3 separate regions of the Homo sapiens genome follow, and all the other regions are linked to region 2. Evidence: promoter capture Hi-C in 16 types of primary human blood cells and fetal thymus (Javierre and others, 2016). All regions are on one chromosome and are shown on one strand. The core of a region is centred on a gene start or on the middle of the fragment in contact, and the rest is flanking DNA. Distances in the headings are between cores, read along the strand shown.

Region 1 (4,283 bases), core at 574-3,073, 700 kb before region 2:
GTTCAGTTAATGAAATACACTCAGGGAAGGCAACAGAGGTAATTATTTTCTTTGACAGGCCCAAATTTTAAGCAGATAAGGGAACTTCAGAGAACAGCTTCATCCTTTGCTTTGACAGAGACAACAGATGAGAGACAGAAGGTGGGGGGATAGTCAGAGAGACCTTGAGGCTTCGTCTTCAGTTCCACATGTCTAAGCACCATATTTTGGGATATCTGTTTCTGAGCCCCAACATCACCTAACTTAAAAAAACATCACTACCTTATTAAATCATCTGCATAGCACTTCTCTGCTACCACTTGGTTAATTTCCCTTGTTTATGCATCATTTGTTTATTGTCTGATTTGCTCACTAGAATGCAAGCTCCATGATAGCAAGGACTTTATCTTGTTCATTCCTCTAACTAGTGATTAGCCTACATTGGGCTTTCAATAAATATTATTGAATTTAAAAATGAAGACTCCTGTCTCTCTCTCAGAGTTATAACCGACGGTATTATGTCAGATTCCTGCCAGATATATGACTGTATTACATCAGATTCCTACAAAAAAACAATCAAGTAAGCTATAGTAAAGTATCCAGCTCTAAGTAAGCTACTACTTCCAAGATGACGTCCATGTTTCACTACCCGGGGCCAAGTGAAGGACTTGGTAAAGGATGTGATGAATTGACTCACCGGCTGTATTGATGAAAATCATTGGTTACATTGGTAACAAGTCCAAAGTTAACTCTGACTCCACAGAAACACTGCTTGCAATTACTCATTTTTGATTAGTATGTATTAAACTATTCATGACTCAAAAACAAGTTAGATACTAAGATGGTGCCATAATGAATAATATGTCCAAAAGTTCTTCAATCACATAAAAATTCTCATTGCCATCCTGAGTAAATATAGCCAAGAAATTCTGATTTATATTATGTTCTTCTCAGTTGTGGTAGGACTTGCCACAGATAATTTCTCAAGATTTCCTGCAAGTTCAAGGTCATGCTTTCAACAGACCGAGCAGCAGTATTTTCAGGAAGACAGAGATATGCAAATGCTATGACAATTTTACGTACTCATTAGAAAAGATTTTTAAGCCCAGCCAGTTCTTTGATTTGGTACACAATTGCATTTCACAGAAACAATGTTTTCATTCATATTCAAAAGCATTGTTTGTCAATATTTCAGTTAATGTTATCTTTCATTAGCTTTATCATCACATATCTTAGGTAAGGTCATAGTTGTAAAAAGTTGTTTCATAATGACCTCTCAAGCTGTATTCTTTTGACACGGAAACATTTTGTTTTAAGTACAGAGGAATAGTCTCATTTCCAAAAGAATAATGCTTATGCCCATTTTCCTTTTTCCCTGAAACTTAAAGCTTCATGGTAGGGTTGTCAGATTTAGCAAATAAAAATACAGGATACCTAATTAAATTGAATGTCAGATAAGCAACTATTGCATGAGACATACTTATATGAAAAAGTCATTCGTTGTTTATCTGACATTCAGATATAACTGGGTATGTTATCTGGCCACCCTGGTCTATCTTCGTTTTTCCCACTTTTGATAGAGACATAGGTTGAAATATACTCAGATGGTTTCCAGGAAGTAACGACATCTTTAATACTTTCTTGTTAGTGATCTTTAAATGTTGTCAGCTTTTAAAAATCGAAGTAGGGAACTAATACTTCTGACCAAGATGAATATCGGAAGTCTGAAACACTGAAAAAAAAACTCAGATAAAATAAATGAAATATCAGTTCTCAAGATGTTGGAAATCAGGCCACCGAAGGATTTCATTATGTCAAACAATTAAACAGCAAATATTGACTCAGCTTTTACCATGTCGTAAGTCATTGTATTACAACATGCCACAAACACAAGAAGAGAAAAAAAAGACAATCTCTCAGTCCTTGGAGAATTTACAATTTGGTAGGAAAGATAACACGGATACACACAAAAAGATAATAAACAGTACAAGGAAGTAGGTGGTAAGTGCCAAAAGAGTAACACAGATAAGAGGAGGCAGGAGATCAGTTTCATCTGTGTCTTTGGAGAAACAGTCAAGCTAAAGGCCTCAAAGGGAGAGAGGACAGGAAAGAGAGTATTTCACTAAATGCTTTACATTCATTATTCCATTTAAGCCTCCCAATAACCCTACAAGGGAGTTATTATTATGATCACCAGTTTCCAGCTGAAAAAAGAATGAGCAGGTCTGAGAAACTTAACTATGGCTACACAGCTAGTAAGCAGCATCTCCACCTCCACCAGGTCCTCCTGACCCCAGAGCCTAAGCTTTTAACTACTAGTGCTACCTCTGAGATGAGGGGGGGAGTAGACTGGAAGCTCTACTGTTACATGAAACTCCTAGAGTTTTGAGTGGGAAAGCAAGATAAAATGACTATTTTAGAAAATGAATTCTTCACACACCATCCCAGACATTCTGGATACAAATGTCATTTGATCACATTGGATTGCAAGGAGACTAAAGAGAGTCAAAGATCAGAAACACTGTGAAATCAAAACAAACTGAAATGAGCTGGTGGTTATTTGCATATATAGGCAAGAGAGAAAGGGAAAAATCAAAGGTAAATGCAAGGCTAAAGATTACAGATACACACACACACACACACACACACACACTCTATTAGAACTAGTAAATTCAGCAAAGTTGCAGGATACAAAATAATCACACGAAAATCAGTTGTGTTTCTATATACTAACAATAAAAAACCTAAAAAGGAAATTTATAAAACAGCTCTATTTTCAATAGCATCAATAACAATAAAAAATTTAGGAATAAACTTAACCAAGCCAAGGGAAAAGAACTATAAAAACTATAAAACATTGCTGAAAGAAATGAAAGACAACACTAATAAATGGAAAGACATCCTGTGTTCATGGATTGGAAGACAATATCATGAAGATGTCAATACTATTCAATGTGATCTACAGAGGCAATGTAATCCCTATCAAAATCCCACCAGTGATTTTTGCAAAAGGAGAAAAATCCATACTAAAATTCATGTGGAATCTCAAAGGACTTCAAATAGCCAAAACAATCTTTAAAAAGAACAGAGTTGGAGGACTCACAATTCCTGATTTCAAAATTTACTACAAAGCTACAGTAATCAAAACAGTGTGGTACTGGCATAAGGACGGACATATAGACCAATGGAATAAAAGAGAGAAATAACCCTTCTCATATACCTTACAGTATATGAAATAACCCTTCCCATGTACCATATTGTCAAATGGTGCCAGAAATAACCCTTCTCATATACCATATGGTCAAATGATATTCCACAAGGGTGCTAAGACCATTCAATGGGAGAAGAACAGTCTTCAACAAATAGTGCAGGGAAAACTGGATATCTACATGCAAAATCATAAAGTTAACCCCTTCCTTCACATCACATAAAATATTAGCTTAAAATGAATCAGCTGGGCATGGTGGCTCACACATGTAATCCCAGCACTTTGGGAGATTGAGGCAGATGGATCACCTGAGGTCAGGAGTTCTAGACCAGCCTGGCCAACATGGTGAAACCCCGTCTCTACCAAAAATACAAAAATTATCCCGTTATCCTGGCATGGTGGTGTGCGCCCATAATCCCAGCTACTCAGGAGACTGAGGCACAAGAATCACTTGAACCCGGGAGGCACAGGTTGCAGGGGGCTGAGATCGCCCCACTGCACTCCAACCTGGGCGACAGAGCGAGACTCAATCTCAAAAATGAATCAAAGATCTAAACATAATAGCTAAAACTGTAACTCTTAAAATACAGAGGGATTTGGCAATTATTTCTTGGACATGACACCAATAGTACAGGCAACAAAGGAGAAAAATAGGTAAATTGGAATTTATCAAAATTAAAACCTTTTGTGCATTAAAGGTTACCATCAACAAAGTGAAAAGGCAAATCATATACCTGATAAGGGAGGGATTAATATCCAGAATATATAAAGAGCAATTCTACAACAACAACAGCAAAAACAACCCCCAAAATGGGCTAAGGATTTGAACGGATATTTCTTCAAAGAAGATATATAGATGGCCACAAGCACATGAAAAGATGTCCAGCATCACTTATCATTAGGGAAATGCAAATCAAAACTGCAATGAGAAATCCCTTTGCACCCATTGGTATGCCTGTTATAAACAAAATGAAAAGGAAAATAGAAGTACTGTGAGAATGTGGAGACACTGGAACCTTTATGCATTACTGGTGGGAATGTAAAATGGTTCAACTGCTGTAGGAAATGGTATAGCAGTTCTTCATTCAACACAGAA
Region 2 (4,697 bases), core at 1,533-4,032:
TCACCTAAAATGAAATCAAACCAGAAATACATGGCATCTAAGGGTTTTAGATTTCATGTTTATATTACACCTCCATTCTTTTTTCAAAAATAATATAGTAAAGAAAATAGACATTTTGAAAAAAAAGGCTGTGAAACAGACCTTTCTTATGTCAACTCAGAGCCCTCAAAATAAAGACAGTTGGATAAAAATATTAGAGGTGTTTTAGCAATTCTTCCCACAGTAGCTGGCACTGTATGTGCCCAATATATATCTGTTGAATGAGTAACATGCTTACATTTATATGAAATGGAAACTTCACTCCTCTGGTTGTGGATACTTAGAACTGCCAACTTCTCTTGAGAGCAAAAGAAAATAACACCAAATGTACTATTTACAAGTCATACACTATGAAACACTTAAGTAGTTTCAAAATATTTCCAATTAGCAAGAAACTCTAAAACAAATGTAGCAATTCATAAATATAAGGTAGCAACGTAAGTGGTTACAGTAAAACATACACAATTACAAGATTTTTTAAGGCAAACTGGAATTCAGACGAGTTCCCAGAAAGCACACTCTTTTTCGGCAGCATATTGTTGACACTACCTTACTAAATTAAACCCCGAGACAGAAACACTCTCCTGACCAAAACACCAGAACTCCAAAGGAGATAAAAGCACCATAAATATGAGTAAGCACTACAGTATTCATCCTTTTTTTAAATTGTAAGTTTCTATTCTAGTAATAAGGGACCCAAAAACTACTAACATAAATAATAAAAGAGCTTAACAAAATTATACATAACTCTACATTGTAAACTTATTACTTAGGAAAAATTGCATTTCATTTTCCGTAATAAAACTTGAGAGAGGAGTTTTTGGTGCAGTAATGCATGCTCTTGTAACAACTTACATTCCCAAATAGCTAAAGAAGTTGCCAGGAAGTTAAAATGAACTTCAGTGAGTCAGTCATTAAGCTGGATAAAAATAATCATTTCTCAACTTTTCCAAAAACACTCACTCCATGCAAACACGATCGATCCTGATACTGTTTTGCCCTTCCCCCTGCTCAGCTTGGGGAAGAAAAATACAAAAACGATGCTTTTAGGCATTTTAAACAACTTCACTACATTGAGGGTGTGTGTGTGTGTGTGTGTGTGTGTGTCTGTGTGTGTGTTTTCCGAAAAACCAGCATGGTTTTCTGTCATTTCCATTACGCTGAAAAGGACATACAGACATCCATCGAAATCAAAAGCAGGGAAAGCGAACTTACACTTTTCCCCAGATGCTAAGTGACTGCAGTGGCTAAGGTCATGGTCAAAATTCACAGCTCGTTTAAACTTTCCTGGCTGAGCCAACAGCTCCGATCATGTTTCCTGATCCTATCGAAGTGGATTAAAACTGCAGGAGTTTCTCGCTGTCAGATCAGCAGGAGGCTATTTCAGACCCTCGAACCGCAGTCCGCATAGCCCGCAGCGGCGCATCCTCCAATCCCCGACTGTGCGTGACGCTAACCTTTCCACGCGTTCTCCAGCCTTTCCCACACCCCCCACAGCGGGTGCGGCCAACTCGGGACCCCCTCCGCCCGCGCCCGCCGGGACCCCCGCCTGCTGTCCCCGCCCCGGCCGCCCTTCCGCAGTCGGTGACTTCTGCCTGACTCCCCAAAGTGGGGGGAGGCGACGAAGGGAGGAAGACTCCCCGCCAAGGGCTCTCCAGCCCGCACAGCGGCAGGGCGATGCGGGAGAAGCGCAGGGATGCCGCCCGACGCCAGAGCCATATTTACATCGGCTGCTGCTTTGCCAAAAAGCCGACTTGTGCCCAGTAATATTGCCTTTAAAGGAAAAAGAAAGGACCTAAGCACTAAAGCTGCTGCCCCAAATCTGCTCGCGCTCCGGTATCCTCGCCCCAGTGCCCCAGTGGGAGGCTCGCACGCGCCCAGCCCGGGACAGGTACACCTGCCCGCAAGCGGAAGACGCGGGCGCCGCGCGGCCCCCACACCGGGTAGCGGTCGCCCGGACCCGGCCCCCAGCAGCTCCCGCCGGGGCTGACAGCCGAGGCGCCGTGCCCCGCACAAACTTCCTACCTCCCAGGCTGCGGGGACCGACCTGCGGGCGGGCGGGCGGACCGGGGGCGGCACTGGCACCCACCGTGAGACTCACATGCACACGGGACCCCCGACCCGCACCGGGCCATAGATCTAAAGGGGACGCAAGTGGTGGTGCCTGGGCGGCCCAGAGGGCTGGGGGCACGCGCCGCGGGGCTGGGGGCTTCGAGGCGGGCGAGCAGCCGGAGGTCCAGGGCTGACTCCGGCTCCCCGCCCCGCAGCAGCTGCAGCCGGAGGAGGAGGGGAACGAGGAGGAAGAGGAGGAGGAGGAAGGGGACCGCGCGCCGCAGCTGAGCCCTTACCGAGTGGTTTACCCCCCACATGAGGACGCTGAGCAGCGGGTCGCTGGCCCGAAACAGCTTCACTTTCTGCGCTACGAAGTGCTTCTTCTTGGTCTTGGTCTTGCTCGCCAGGACAGAGGACCCTAGGTTGCCGGGGGTCGCCATGGCCGCCTCCTATGTCCCCTCCACCGCCGTGCTCCCGAGGCCGGGGACCCGCCCTCTCTACACCCCGGCCCGGGGAGGCAGCCGCATCCCCCCGGCGGCGGCCCCGGCGCGCCGCGCTCCGCTCCGCCCGCCGCCGCCGGCGCGCTCAGCCCCACTCGGCTCGCTCCGCCCGCTCGGCCCGGCAGACTGCGCTCGGCTCGCGCCCCGGCCCGTATCCTGCGCCCGCCGCGGATCCGCGCTCAGCCCGCGGCTGGACCCGGCGCGCGGCGAGCGGCTTCCGCGTTGGGCGCCGGCGTCATGACGCAGGGGGCGGGCGGGCAGGCGGGAGGCGGCTGCGGCGCCGCGGGCGGGGCACTGGGTGCGGGGCGCGGGGCGCGGCAGCTGGACCGTTAGGCTGCGCCTTCCCGCCCCGGCTCCGCTGCAGCCGGGCCGCCCCCTGTGCGCGGGCGACCTCCGGGCGTTCGCTCCCTGCCCGCGGAGGAGGCCGTGGGTTGCGAGCGGGAGCCTGGGGACCCCGGCTAGGCGTCCCCTGCCGCTCCCCAAGGAGGGAGAGGACAGAGTGGGCAGAGTGAGGAGGTTGGGGAGAGGAGCCCCCAGGCGTCGATCAGGCGAAGGAGGGAGGCTCATGCACTCACCCACGCCACGAGTCAGGAGACCCAGCCAGGTGTGAAATGCTGCAGGGAGACCAGGGCTTCCCAGCACCGAGGGGAAGGACCCGGGCACATTGCCGGGTCAGTCCCTGAAATGAACTTAATACTTTTGTGCGGATAACCGTCTGGCCTTTCAGACCCTCGATATGGGCCTCCTGGAGCCATTCAAGAGGGAGACTCCCACGTAATAGGCTGGGCTGTCACTGCCAACCCACTCCGTGCCCGGGGCAGGAACCTCGGACCTCATCGAGAGCCCTTGGCTTAACCAGTAGAATCATGCCCCAAAGTGCACCTTCTTCCAATCCATCACTATGGTACTTGCCATCCCTGCCTGTTTTCCAGTGCACTCACCGTCCGTGGAAATCTGTTCACCGTCTTCCTCCAGATACACCTAAATGTAGCCCTTATTATGCTGAGAATACTTGGCCTACCTCAGGAAGCTGCCATTCCAAGTATGTCTAAAACCCTGCTGCCCCCATATCGTCCTTGCAGTCGTCATCCTGTGCTATTTACTCTGACCCAGCTCACCAGTCCTCACGGAGTAGGTTCTTGGAAACTGTCACCTTAAGCAAAACAACATATAACAAAACCAAATTTGCCATAGGCTGACATATAAAAAAAGAGTTAAGTTCCTACAGCATTATTTCCGGTTACAAAAACATCACCGAACTTCAAAGTAAAAATTCAAAACACTTCTAATATTAAACATTAAAATAAATGTGAGCTATACCTCTTTTTTATTTTTATTTTTTCCCTTGAGATAGGGTCTCGCTGTGTCAACCAGGCTGGGGGTGCAGTGGTGCAATCACAGCTCACTGCAGGCTCTACTTCCCCAGACTCAGGTGATTCTCCCACTTCAGACTCCCCAGTAGTTGAGACTACAGGCGCGCACCACCAAGCCTGGATAAACTTCTTGTATTTTTGGTAGAGATGGGGTTTCACCATGCTGCCCAGGTTGGTCTCGAACTCCTGGGCTTAAGGAATCTGCCCACCTTGGCCTCCTAAAGTGCTGGGAATACAGGCACCAGCCACTGCACCTGGCCTACCTACATTTTTTAAAGATTGATAAAAACAAGATAATGGTTTGCCAAATTTCTAGTGATTAAGTGAGCGATGGTTGCTGTGGTGCTGGGTTAAGTCAAGGAATAAGTGTTTGCAAAGCAAAAGTTGCCTGTAGGACCTGCTGCTACCATGAAATTCAAAAACAATCACAAATATGGTAGCTGAGTGCACTCCTATCTCATTTATTGTCGTGCATTTTTATGATTAATGTACACTTACATATTTTTATTTTACAGTCATTTGTTTCACGGATTTATTCATTTTTCCAACTCATTTATTCCAGTTCAAGGTCACAGATAGTGGGAGCCTTATCCCAGCTGCTCAGCTTGGGCAAAAGGTGGGAACCATCCCTGGATAGGATGCCATTCTGTTGCAAGACACACACACACACACACACACACACACACACACCACACACACACACACACACCCCTACACTCACTTAAACTGGGAC
Region 3 (4,828 bases), core at 997-3,496, 720 kb before region 2:
CGTCATTTTAGAATTCTAGTATTTGCTCTTAGTGGCATCTTAACGTTGCTCTTCTCCATTTTAACACTGCTGCATATACTATGGCATGTCCTTTAATTCTTGATCTTAGATTATTAGCTTTAATATTAAGCAACTCAAATATATTAGTTAACTGTGTAGCTGCACAGAGCTTAATGCCTACTGCCTCAGTAGCAATAAAACAGGCATCCATCTGATAATGAAGTATACTGTTTTATACACATATTCTAACAAAAATGTAGAACGTGGCATGCCCTTGCTTTTGCAATATGCCTGGTTACATGTGAGATTTCAGTTGCTGGATGATGTAATCAGAAACACTTATCAAATATGGTGAATGAATCCTCACCTTGCTTAATTTAGTATTACATAAGATGGGAAATGAAACATAAATTCTAGATTAAATTTCTAATTAGGTCCTTATGACACGCTTAGACAAAAAATTTCAGTAAATATAAGTAATACTCAAATATCAACTATTCAGTTCTTAAAATGAAATACTATGCTGTTATTTAAAACATGTAATCATATTTTTACATTCATTAGTATAGGGCCCATCTTTTACAATTAAGTGTTTTGATGAAAATAAAGATTTTTGAAAATATGACTGTGACTTCATTATAAAATGATCTAGGGTCCTGCTTCATCCAATCAGAAATCTCTCTTTCCACTGCAATTCCTTTCCTTTATTTTTGTATAACTCTGTAAGAAAGGCTTTGGAATTGTTTTCAACTAGGTGGAATTAACTGGTATCATTACTGTCTAAACAGACCCAATAATGCCCACAGTGGAAAACAGTTCTGAAAGTCACATAGTACCATTTATGGAATAAGCAGTTCACTGAGAGAGAGCATAACAAAGCTGAGAAAAGGTTTATTACAGACACTAGGCATTTTATCAAACAACTTTTATTGGCATTACTTACAACTGCCATATAAATTCTCCTCTCAGCAATCAAGTCAAATAACCTCAACCTCTGTTTTATTCTCAACATTGAACAAAATATGATTGTGAAATTAACCACATTAAACCAATCACTAGGTAAACTGGTAACCCATATAACGTTTTAGAATATATTTCTAGGAATAATTGTAATAGCAGAAGCCATTCCACTTTCCCAGTTCAACTTAGGCTATTGTCTATGAATAACAAAAGATACAATATTCTAAGAGTGTTCTCATAATTAGTGTAAAGAAAAAACTGAGAATAGCATAAAAGGAAAAAGGAAACTTAAAACTAAAAGAAAGTCTCTGTTCCATCAGCTCTAGATTATATGTGGCAAAATTTTCACAATAGACTTGCTTTATCCCATAAAATTGGCTCAGGCATCTTCCACTAAACTATACATATCACAAAAAGAGTGTGTACATAAGAAAACTAATTTTATGATAATTCTATCTGATGCAAAGATGTATACAATTAAACAAGTACTTATTCAGCTCTAACGCTATGCATGCCTACATCAGAAATATAAATGACTGAAAGGTTATCTACCATTCTAGATTCTGTGTATCTCTTTCTCCAAATTAAAAAAAATTGGATTCTACAATAAAAATGGGGAAGCTATTATTACACAACACACATGTACAAAGGAATAGACTCCACAGAGAAAGACTGAACTACACTCAACACCACAAGCTCAGTGGATTCCACTGCAAGAATCACTGGACAAAATTGATAATCACAGTACAAATTCACCATCATTCATGAATGAAATCATCATCTTCATTTCTAAAAAGGACTGTGATGGGCTTTAGGGAGGCCCCATTAACTGGTTTTTCCCATCCAAAAAACTGAGTGGACACAGGAGTCGGGCAGACAAGAGATGAACCTTTATAACTGATACAGCTATTGAAGAATACAGGTTAAATGTGATGGCCAAATGGGCTTGCTAGCAATTTGTGCCCTCTCCTCTACATTCTAGACTTTGAGACAGTATGCTCAAGGGTAAGTCTGGTTAGGATAATTGCCTTACTGGTCTGGGCAGAGAGGTGCAAAGAGACTGATTCCCACTACTCATAGCTTTCTGACTGATCAGCTCTTCCTAATCAAGCAAAACAGAGCAAAGGCAATCACCCTCCAGTAAGGTAACTCACACCGCCATGGTAAGATGTTAGAGATGGGTCTAGTGATCAGTGGTGTTTTTTTAGGGAAGTTCCTCCCAACCATGGGGCACGGATGAATGGGCAATAATTGTCCCTCCTCTAAACAGGCTAGCTAATCTGTACATTTGAAAATACAGGCCGAATGAGCTTAAAAGGTTTATTAATTCCTATCTAAAAATTAAAATCCAAATATTTTATAAGCACATCCCTGTTCTTCTGCTTTTCTTCTGTTAACCAAGTTTCAGCATTCATTTGAATATAAGGATTTAGTTATAAAACACGAGAGAAAGAGAATGAAGCACATTTTCTAGCTACATAAATAGAAGTCTGTAATGACTGACTGGCACCATGAAGACAAATCTTGACTTCAGCATAAAGTAAATACTACAAAATTTAAGATAATTTAGCTTGTCATTATTTCAATTCACAGATTTTTTTAAATGAATATGAAGTGTTTACTGTTGGCTAGAATTACTGTATACAAAGGATAAGGAAAGTCATGGTCCCAAAAGACAATTAAAAGAAATATAGAGGCTGGGCGCAGTGGTTCACGCCTGTAATCCCAACACTTTGGGAGGCCGAGGTGGGTGGATCACCTGAGGTCAGGAGTGCAAGATCGGCCTGACCAACATGGCGAAACCCCATCTCTACTAAAAATACAAAATTAGCCAGGCATGGTGGCAGGTGCCTGTAATCCCAGCTACTCGGGAGGCTGAGGCAGGAGAATCGCGTGAACCCAGGAGGCAGAGGTTGCAATGAGCCAAGATCGCGCCACTGCACTCCAGCCTGGGCGACAGAGCAAGACTCCATCTCAAAAAAAAAAAAAAAAAAAAGAAATACAGAATTGCCACTGACCCCACAAGAAGTACAGGTGTCTGAGAAGCAGGTGCTGTTACACAAAATATAAATACTGTGCAGGAACCTATAATTTAAGATGGTAACGAAAGATCTTTCAATAGCACATCTTTTTTCCTACACTCCTCTCTCATCTTCCCCCCATCTCCTCTGAAAAGATGCAATATCCAAATTGGAGTGCCCTATTATTAAAGTCATTCTAAACATGGTATGAATGACTAATAAATCATCTGTATATACCCCCCAACAAAGACTTCTGCAACCCCTTTCTAGACTTCTAGAATGGACGTGAAATCTAAGGATACATGGAAGAAGATTCTTCTGCTGCCTGAAGGCTGTGAAAGATTACATAGAAGTAAAATCTGTTGAGTAAAAACTGTCAAGCAACTACTTGTTTGGGGAATTACAGTTTGCATTTAGTTACAATGTTTATAATGTTTGATTCAATAAATATTTAGGTGTTTACTATGTGCCTTACTATGAAGAAAATAAAAAGCTACCATCTGTCCTAAAAATGAGGCAACTAACTTGTCCAAGGTCATAAGGTGGTCTGGTCCAAGTTCTAAGTCATCTGTTATTCAGATTATAGAGCTTAGAGAGTAACTGAGTTATCTTATACCTGGTGGATAAGGGGATAAAGAAGATGCCACAGACAGTCACTACCATCTCTGCCTTCTAGTTTAGGATATGGATATCTCAAAAGAATGTTCTATATTAATTGTCTCCAATTCTTCCCTTTCATTCTCTCCTGAACCCAATCTACCCAGACTACTGAACTCACCACTTCACCAAAACAGTTCTTACTGAGGTAGCCTGTGACCGCCATACGGTTAATTCCAACGGTGAAGTCTCAAAGCTCATCTTATTTGAATCATCATCATCATTTAACCCAGCTGATCCCTTTGTCTTTGAAACACTTTTTTCACTTGACTGAAGAGAACCTTGTATTGGTTTGCCTCCTACCTTACTGGTCGTTCCTGCTCTATCTTCTTTGTTGATTCCCCTCCATCTTCTTGACTCTTTTTTTTTTTTTTTTTTTTTTGAGACGGAGTCTCGCTCTGTCGCCCAGGCTGGAGTGCAGTGGCACAATCTTGGCTCACTGCAACCTCCGCCTCCCGGGTTCAAGCAGTTCTCTACCTCAGCCTCCCGAGTAGCTGGGATTCCAGGCGCCTGCCACCACGCCTGGCTAATTTTTATCTTTTTAGTAGAAACGGGGTTTTACCATGTTGGCCAGGCTGGTCTTGAACTCCTGACCTCGTGATCCACCCGCCTCAGCCTCCCAAAGTGCTGGGATTACAGGCGTGAGCCACCACACCCGGCTCCTTGACTCTTAAAGTCTGGAATCCCCAAGGCTTATTAGCTCCCAGATCTCTTCTCTTCTCTTTTACGTTCACTCCCTTGGTGAACTCATCCAGTTTTGTGGCTTCAAGTTACTCTCTAAGTGCCTCGGACTCCCAAATTCCTATCTACAGCCCTAAACTTTCTTCTTGTAACTCTACACCTGAATAACCAATTGCCTACATACCAGCTCAACTTCAACGTTTAACAGACACCCCAAATTTAGCATGTCCGTAAACCAAATTCCTGATGTTCTCCAAACCAGGCTCCTAGTCCAGGTTTCTCCATCTCAACAAATGGCAATTGCATCCTTCCAGTTACTGAAGCCAAAAATCTTTAGAATTATCTTCAGTTTCTCTTTTTCTCTCGCATACCACATTCAAGCCATCAGTAAAATTCTGTTTGCTCCATGTTGAAATTCAATCCAGAATCTGACCATTTTGCACCACCTCCACTGCTACCACCCAGGTCCAATCTATACCACAATTATCCCTCTAAGTAACTAATGCCTC

The links. The method cuts DNA at HindIII sites, captures the fragments that hold promoters and counts their contacts. A CHiCAGO score of 5 or more calls a contact.
Region 1: a contact is called between a fragment that was not itself captured here and the fragment with the promoter of PIP4K2A in region 2, in 1 of 17 cell types (total CD4 T cells). The highest score is 7.7, in total CD4 T cells.
Region 3: a contact is called between a fragment that was not itself captured here and the fragment with the promoter of PIP4K2A in region 2, in 3 of 17 cell types (total CD4 T cells, naive CD8 T cells and neutrophils). The highest score is 6.9, in total CD4 T cells.

Annotation. Positions count from the first base shown.
Region 1 is chr10:22,015,544-22,019,826 of GRCh38, forward strand. No RefSeq gene overlaps it. Among named protein-coding and RNA genes, the nearest start is that of DNAJC1, 14 kb to the left of the region's middle. The HindIII fragment of the contact is 917 bases long and covers 1,366-2,282 here.
Region 2 is chr10:22,711,796-22,716,492 of GRCh38, forward strand. PIP4K2A (phosphatidylinositol-5-phosphate 4-kinase type 2 alpha) reads right to left here and starts at 2,783. Exons shown (of 10, transcript NM_005028.5): 1 at 2,388-2,783. The coding sequence starts at 2,531. RefSeq lists silencers at 1,519-1,628, 1,929-2,048, 2,219-2,298, 2,599-3,268 and enhancers at 2,429-3,037, 3,038-3,645. The HindIII fragment of the contact is 12,209 bases long and covers 1-4,697 here.
Region 3 is chr10:21,995,454-22,000,281 of GRCh38, forward strand. All of the region lies in intron 1 of DNAJC1 (DnaJ heat shock protein family (Hsp40) member C1), which reads right to left. Among named protein-coding and RNA genes, the nearest start is that of DNAJC1, 5.9 kb to the right of the region's middle. The HindIII fragment of the contact is 6,758 bases long and covers 1-4,828 here.